Linked DNA regions of Homo sapiens: region 1 is linked to region 2. Evidence: promoter capture Hi-C in human tissues and cell types (Jung and others, 2019). All regions are on one chromosome and are shown on one strand. Each heading gives the region's core, a stretch centred on a gene start or on the middle of the fragment in contact. The rest is flanking DNA. Distances are from core to core; before and after follow the strand shown. Region 1 overlaps DOK5 (docking protein 5). Region 2 holds the start of DOK5 (docking protein 5).

The links. Contacts are between HindIII fragments. The study calls those that stand out against the background at their distance.
Region 1: a contact is called between a fragment that was not itself captured here and the fragment with the promoter of DOK5 in region 2, in 2 of the 25 tissues and cell types used here (aorta and dorsolateral prefrontal cortex).

The regions. Positions count from the first base shown.
Region 1 is chr20:54,528,981-54,532,977 of GRCh38, forward strand. All of the region lies in intron 1 of DOK5 (docking protein 5), which reads left to right. Among named protein-coding and RNA genes, the nearest start is that of DOK5, 55 kb to the left of the region's middle. The HindIII fragment of the contact is 3,382 bases long and covers 34-3,415 here.
Region 2 is chr20:54,473,995-54,478,079 of GRCh38, forward strand. It overlaps DOK5 (docking protein 5), which reads left to right and starts at 1,599. Exons shown (of 8, transcript NM_018431.5): 1 at 1,599-2,018. The coding sequence starts at 1,953. The HindIII fragment of the contact is 11,986 bases long and covers 1-4,085 here.

The DNA.
Region 1 (3,997 bases), core at 475-2,974, 55 kb after region 2:
GATGTTAAAGCATCTTTGCATCTTTGAATGGATCACCTCCTGCATGACTGTTCTCTGGGTCCTGAGCAGGGAGAGACAACCAGGTGCATACACAATTTGGATTTCATGGTCTTTTTATCTCTACTAAAACTATTTGCAGAGATACAGTTCTAATGACAAATGCTAATTATTGGCTGTCACTTAGCCTTCTAATGATTAAATGCAAAGGCATTAGGGTGTTAAGGAAGATAGACATAATTATAATAATAAGACTAAAATATATGGAATGCTTTCTTGAAGTAGTATATTCCATTGAACAATAATTGCTCTTCAATTGCAGTTTTAATATTCTAAACCTCAACTTCTCACCTTGAAATACTACTACTAATAATAGTTCCTTTATAAATCATGGAATTGTTATAAGAGTTAAAGAAGATAATGCTGATTAGGTGACAGGCTGTCCCTTAATAAATGCTCAATAAATGCAAGATGAGGATGATTTTATTGTTGGCATAGCATGTGCCAGGCATTCTGTAATTATTTTGAATTTTACCCCCAACAACAAGTTTATAAGGGTGACTTTAAAAAAAAAAACAGCATTATTGGGATATAATTCATATACCATAAGATTCATCCTTTTAAAGTGTATAATTCAGTATTTTTAGCATATTTACACTGTTGTGTAACCATCATCACAATGTAAATTTAGAACGTTTTCATCATTCCATAGAGAATTCCCGTACCCATTAACAGTAGTCACTTCTCATTTTCCCTTCCATCAATTTCTGAAAACCACAAATCCACTTTCTGTTTTCATGCATTGGCTTCTTTTGGAAATGTTGTATAAGTGAAATCCTACAATACATGGTCTTTTGTGTCTGGCTTCTTTCACTTAGTACATTGTTTTTGAAGTTTCATCTATGTTGTAGCATGCATTAGTACTGCATTCCTTTTTAAGGCTAAATGATATTCCATTGTGTGGATAGACCACATTTTGTTTATCTATTCATCCATTTATACATTTGGGTTTGTTAAATTAAGTTTAGCCTACAACTGTCTCTTTTTATATATTTTAAGTTTAGCCTAAAGGTTTTTTGTCAACTGTAGTTTACTCTTGTGTCAATTACTGAATTTTGGCTAATCAAAGATGACCAACTGTTTAAATCATGCACAAGTGCCATGGTGTGACCAATTTGGCTATTTCTGTATCTCACTTTTGTTTCTTTGTCCTTTATTTGGTGTGTGTCTATAAATCCTTTTTTACTATGTGGCTATGCTAAAGTCTCTGTAAGCCTATTCTGGCTTGAGAGTCTGCCCTATTACTCATTATTTATTTGACATATTTTGAGATGGCTGTTCAGGGGGCCAGCAGACAGAAGCAACCTGCAAAGCTGTTTTCTATGGGCGAGATTTGCATCTGTAGAGAGTCTACATTGAGGCAGCCAACCCTACCCTTGTCTTGATCTACGGAAGATTAACTGAGAGTCTGACACCTTTAAAGAAGAAACATTTACTATCTCTTCTCTCTGAGGGCTGCTACCTGTTTGATTTCATTTACACAAGACCACCTTTGCTAACCAAGCCTCCTCTTCTCTACTTCCCATGACCTGTCTTGCCAGTCTAACCTGGTTTATCAGCCTAGCCTAATTTGGGCCATCCTGAGCCCTCATTCTTTCTGTAACCTCAAGATGGTTTATAAGCTTCTGCACCCCATCGGGTAGTTGGGGTATTCACTCTGTGGTTCTCTCCCATGTGCACGTTAATAAATTTGTATGCCTTTTCCCCTATTAATCTGTCTTTTTTGAGTTGATTTTTTAAGACAGCCTTTAGAGGGTGAAGGGAAGCTTCCTTTCACCCCTGCAATACCCTGTACACCCATTATTTCCCAAATGTAAGAATATATATGACCCACATAAGAATATAAGAATAAAGGGGTAAGCTAAGTTCCTGTGAGCGGAATTGCAGGATCAGAAGATGTGTATATTATGAGGAACACTCTTGTCAAGTTGCCCTTCCATGGAGACTGTCTGAACCACACTCCTATGTGTTATGAAGAGCTTGAGGCAATATTTCTGTCTGGACCAATTATAAAGAATAGTTGTGACTTTCCTCAGTAATTGGTTTGTTTTTGTCTTATGGAGAATGTTATTCACAACTTACCAAGCTTGGATTATGTTGCTTGCTTAGAGCCTTTGTGGTCCATCATGAATGTCTGTGAAACTATATTCTGAACGTTTGTTAGTGTCACTCCACTTTCATATATTATGTGGTATTGGAAAAGCCTTTCACTGGAGCTTAAAATTCTCACTCAGGTGAATCTTGAGTCAATTTCAATTTTAGTCATAGAACCCCAGAGCTCCAAAAGACTAAAGCGTCAAGAACCTAGTTTATAGCCAGGGAAGTCTTTCAATTTTGAGTGAGTTTGGGTAAAATTCACTATAGATAGAACACCTAAGGATAAATTGATATTATAGAGGAAATAAATCACCAGCTTCTCTCATTTTATAACAAATCAGAGTAAGAATGCCATTCCAGGGCTTTGCAATATTCAGCAACCTCCTACAAGCTTCTTTTTGTCTTTGGATACAAGGAAGATAGAAGTTGAGTCTCTTGCCTCCACGTATTACTATTGGAGACAAAGTCTTGGGGAAGTCAGGTTCCAATTAGTTTCTAGGGGAAAGGCTCTCACTTTCTTCATATCCTTTGAAAAAGCAATCCAGTAAAACTTTACAAAGTTTCCAAGAAAGCGCAAAGAAAGATTTATGTGAATGCCACTGGCTCTACTGATGTTATGTATTCTTTAAGTTGGGGATTCATTTATTTCTTCATTTTACTTGGAAACTGTTTTGTTTTGTGCTCACCATGACCCAATTACTATAATTTGAGCAGTGCATAAAGCAGGCTCTGCCCCTCATAGAATTTACAGTCTAAAGAGAGATAATTATACAAACAATTACTTTAAGTGTAGTTTGTTTATGATGGAGAAAGGTCATGTGTTCTGAGTGTGGATGAGAGGGGCCTCTCATGTAATTGATTTATGCAGCAAGCATTTGTTGAATACCTACAGTATGGTGATCCCTGTGCTAGAGCTGGGGATACAGTAATGAAGGCTATAGACAAATACCCTCCACCTCTGGAAGTTGGAGTCTAGTAAGAGCATCTCTCATTTATTAAACACTTATATTCCAGGCCTTGTTCTAAGGTGATTTAAATGTAGTAACTCATTTGACCCTCTCGACAACCCAGTGTGGTAGATAGGATTACAATTATCTCATGAAGGACAGAGAGGTTAAACAACCTGCCCAAGGCCACACTGCATGTACATTTTGGAATTAACCTGCTCGTGGGCAGGTGGGCTCCTGAGGTTGTGTTCTTGACTTTAATTGTATATGCTTCTCCCTATTCTGTGTTTATAGAGAAGAAGGCATTAGGAGAGGTTTCCTAGAACAAGTAACATGATACATAAAAGATAAGTAGCCAAGTGGAAGGGTGTGGAATGGGAAGATTGTTCCACATAGATGCATTGCGCCCAGGTGCAAGAAAGAAGGTGGGGAAGGTGGCAATAGTTTCAGGAAAGAAAGGAGCCTGGTGTGTGGGAGGCTGGAGGTGGGTATATCTTCACAGCTTGGCACAAGTCTTGTAGGTTGCCTGCAGACTCAAGACTTTATGTGCCGGGACTGCTGCTGTTCTCAGCCTCTGTTTTGTTTCTTTTCATACTGAGTGATCTTCACCGTGTCACTTTTGCTCTTGTTTTCTATGTCTGCCTGCTGGCAGTGACTTTGCTAGCCAGGATCAAGTTTGGGCAAGATACCAGGAGGCTCAGAGACCTGCGATCTGAGTGGCATTTCCTCAGGCCTTGTCCTGACCTCCTGGCCCAGAGCTAATTGTGCTACCTAAGTTTGAAAATGCTTTAAAATTTCAAGTATATCCTCCTGGGACAACTGGTATGTCTTGGCTTGATAAACAAGTTGATATCTATGTCTACCTGATCCTAAGGCATTTGCCACTCTAATTTGTC
Region 2 (4,085 bases), core at 349-2,848:
AAAAGGAGCTCTCCAAATGATTTTACCATTTCATCTCTTTTGGTGAGAGATTTAAAATTAAAACATCATTTTCCATAGAATGGCAACATGAAGACAGATGGTTTACTATGTAGCAAAAATAGTTCTCCCTGCCAGAATATCTCCTTTTTGATTGTCCCCATTTAGTCTCGGTTCTCCTATGACACATTCTTGGAGGTTTCTGTTCTTTAACTGAAACTCATCAAGCCAAGGTGACTAAAAGCTAATGTTCCCAGTGAGAATGGGAAGATTCATATCGTCTTAGAGTTGAAAGACCTGTGGATGTCATCAGGTCAAACAATCCACTACTAACTGAATCCTCTTCTCAATGGCTCTGAGCAGTGATCTCTAGCTTTAGCTTTGTCGCTTCCCAGTGAGTAAGAATTTTTGTCTAATTTCTGATGATTATCTTTGCCTTTGTGAATAGTGCAAATGATTAGAAAGATCTTCCTTGGAAATCAACTAGTAACCTCTCTTTCTGTGAGATCCTCTCTTCAGAAGAGGAATAGGAGAATGTTTAGGAGCAGAGCTGGGCACTACACACACCTCCCTTCAATCCTAGCTCTGATAGTGGCCAGCTGTGAGACCTTAGCAAGTCTGTAAAATGTGGATGCTGGTGCCTAATTCATTATTCCCTTAACAAGATTAGCACAATGCCCAGCACACTGGTGCTCAATGTGTGTTAGCAATTATCAATCAAGTATGCTTTAGGGAGGTAATGCAGTCAGGGGCAGGTGAGTGTGAAATTCAGTCCCCTTCTTCATCTTATTGTATAGGCAGTATCTCATAATGGCAATGAGAGCTCTATTGCCAGGCTAAGGAGGCTTAATTAAATATGGGCCTGGTGTATACATTAACAGGGCACCTACCTCAAAAAGTGCAGGGGAGTTTGAATGAGTCAATCCATGCAAAAGGCTTGGAGAGTGCCTGGCACCTAGGTGGCCATCTTGATAACCACAAGGATTTACTGAGCACTTGCTCTGGGGTCAGGCTTTGGGGACAGACAGTGATGAGGCCAAGTCTCAGCCCCCTGGGAAACACATTCCGGCGGGAAAGAGGCTGAAACAGGGAAACTGTGGCAAATGATACCAGCGAGGGCTAGGTCCCTGACACAAGGAAACCCAAGGAAGCATTTGGCTTAAGCGGTGACAATATCCCTCTCCTCAGATGCCAAGGTCAAGGCGAGCCGCGGCAACACCATCTCCCCAGACACACACGCAAAATCGGCCCTTCTCGGGGAAAGGGCAGGGGCTGAAGGGGGAGGCGGGGTGGGCGGCGGCTGGAAAAAAGTGAAATTTCCTCTCCTCCTAAAATAAGTCATTGGAGCGAGGAGAGCGAGCGCTATCTCAGTAGGCTGTGGGCGAGGTGCGGGGGTGGCGGGGGCACGCTCCGGGTCCGCCAGGAGGGGAGGGATCGGAAGGGGAAGCGGGGAGGGAAAGGTGGGTGGGAGGCGCGGGGAGCGTTCCAGGGCGGCTGCTCACGGGTGGCCGCAGCCCAGTGCTGGGACTCGCGCGGCTCCTCCTCTTAGCCCCCCACCCCTTCCTCCTCTTTCCTCCTCCTCCTTCCTCCTCCTCCTCCTCCTTCTTCTCCTCCTTCTCGGCCGGGAGGAGGCAGGGCTGGATCCCTCAGCCGCCGCCGCTCCTCCTCCTGGCAGGCCGGCCGCGGAGTCAGCTGACGCCGGCGCTCCAGCCTCGCCTCCCCGCGCCGCGCTCTGCGCTCCCCGAAAGTGGCTGCAAGCCGGCCGCCCACTGTCAGGGTTGGGGGGACAGAGAAAGTGATGTGCGCCTTCTAAAGCCTCGCCCAGCGCCGCCGAAGCAGCTTCACCTCTCCAACTTTCTCCCACCGACTGCTTGTCTTGACCCTGCCCTCCACCCTCCCCAGAGCCACTTCGGGTGCGCGCTCTTGGGTAAAGGGGGGGTCACCGGCTGTCTGGGATGGCTTCCAATTTTAATGACATAGTGAAGCAAGGGTACGTGAGGATCCGGAGCAGACGCCTCGGGGTGAGTATCGATCCTCTCCGTGTTGCTGTTCGCCGGTTCGATTGTCTCTCTCTTGAGCCAGCATCCCTGGAGGGTGGACGGAGAGTCCCCGGCCGCGCGCCGGAGAATTGCGCGGTGGCTTTCTCAGCCGAAACCCGCGTCTCCGGGGCTGTCACTGTAAGGCCAGCGTCTAGGTATGTAATGGATCTATCTTTATCTCTTGGATGACTTGGCTTTCTGATGGTGGCCGCGTGTTGGGCTTCAGTAGCCCCTGGAGCCCATCTACTCGAAATAAATATTTCTCGGTAGCCATGGAAGTTGGAGCTGAGAAGCCCGGGCGGGGGTGCCTGCCGGATGCCCCCGGTTCCCCTCTTTTCCCACTCGCCGCCAACTTAACTTTTCCGGGGGATGGATCGGCTGGTTGAGAAAGAGGACACGCATACTCGGTGTGAACGAGGTCACGAACCCTCTGACCCCAGGGAGAGATTTCTGCCAAGCGTAAGGTGTCTTTGGATCCCCCCACCTCTGTCCCAGGTGTCGTGTCAAAGGCGGTGCGGGCTGGCCTCTGGTCGGGGCCAACTTGGGTAGATACTTGAATCTGGATTTTCCGTGGTTCGAAGCCGGGGTGGTGGATTTCTGTTGCTGGAATACACCCTGGAGGTCCACGGAAGGGTTATTTACGTGGAACCTGATACCTGGCATAGCGCAAGTGCTCCCTACATATGTCCTGAAAGGAAGAATGAATGAATCTTAGGGCACTTGGGACAGATGTTGACACAGGCTAGCTCCTTCCTTAAAACTCCCTCTCTTTCGCCCCTTTCTCTCTTGGCTCTTCGCTGGAGGAGGCTTCAAAAGAGAACCTACCCTTCCTCTCCTTGGGACTGAATGATGGTGGAAGAATTCTTGAGGGAGAGGGAAGATACTGGAACGATTTTTTTATTTCCTAAAAATTTCAAACTAGGTCCCTCATTTCTCTTTGCCTCCTATCAAGTGTTGTCGCTGTTTTAGTTGATCCTGTGCGTTTGGACATAAGGGGTGAAAAGTGGGGGTGGAGAGGTGGCGGGGGCGGGGGGAGAAAATATCCTTTGGTGTAATGCCTGAAATAAGTATAATGTCAGTAATCGTGTGGAATGCCGCCATTGATAATGAGTGGTAAATTGAATAGCTTTCTTTAGAAATATGTGTCATTTGGCATCTTTCTCTTACTTGGTCTTTGGACTGTTTTAATGTGCCAGATACTTTTACTGAAAACTGAAAAGAAATTTCACAGTAGTAAACTCAGCTAGGGAGGGAAGCCCTGTGGGGAGGAACATCCGCAATTATTATAAAACTCTTGCCTAATTCGTTTTGGTCTTTTTCTTTTCTTTTTCTCCCCTGCTGGTGACCATGTTTTAGCGATTATGTCCTGTGTTATTGTGAATATATACATATGTAATTAGGGAGAAATGTAACAGAATTCACCATTTCCATCAGCTCTGCCAAAGTTTCCTTGGTTTTCTTTTCTGCTATGCAAATATTCTCATCTTCAAGAGCACCCATTGTTGGGGGTACTTTACTGAGTGACTCCCATGTAAGGGGCAAACAATAATGGGAACTTTCTATTTTTGGTATGCTTATAGGCTGGCCAAGTGTTACAATTTTAAGGGGAGTTAAGTTAAAAAAAAAAAAAACCCAGCATTCTAATTTAGCTTTACTCCATCATGTCAATGGAAGGAATTGGTATGAGACATCCATTCTGTGTTAGGGAGCATTCCAATGGGAAGAGGACATGCATTATTAATGCACAAAATATGAATTATTCATAAGGATCAGAGTTTATGCCAAATTGTGACACATGGTAATTTATTTGAAAAACTGGTTACCATCACTTTCTTGTTTGTGGTAACTGAGATTATTTTTTCTAGATTATTACAATTGACACAACATAGCCCTATGTGTGTGCCAACATTTATGGACAGATATTTGAAGCAGAAGGAACAGAAATATTTAGTTTGTATTTGTTTTATGTTTTACAGCATTTTGGATGCTAATGAGCAGTATACTTTCTCAAGATTTATTCTTTTTGTCTGTGTTCACGTTCAGACTTCA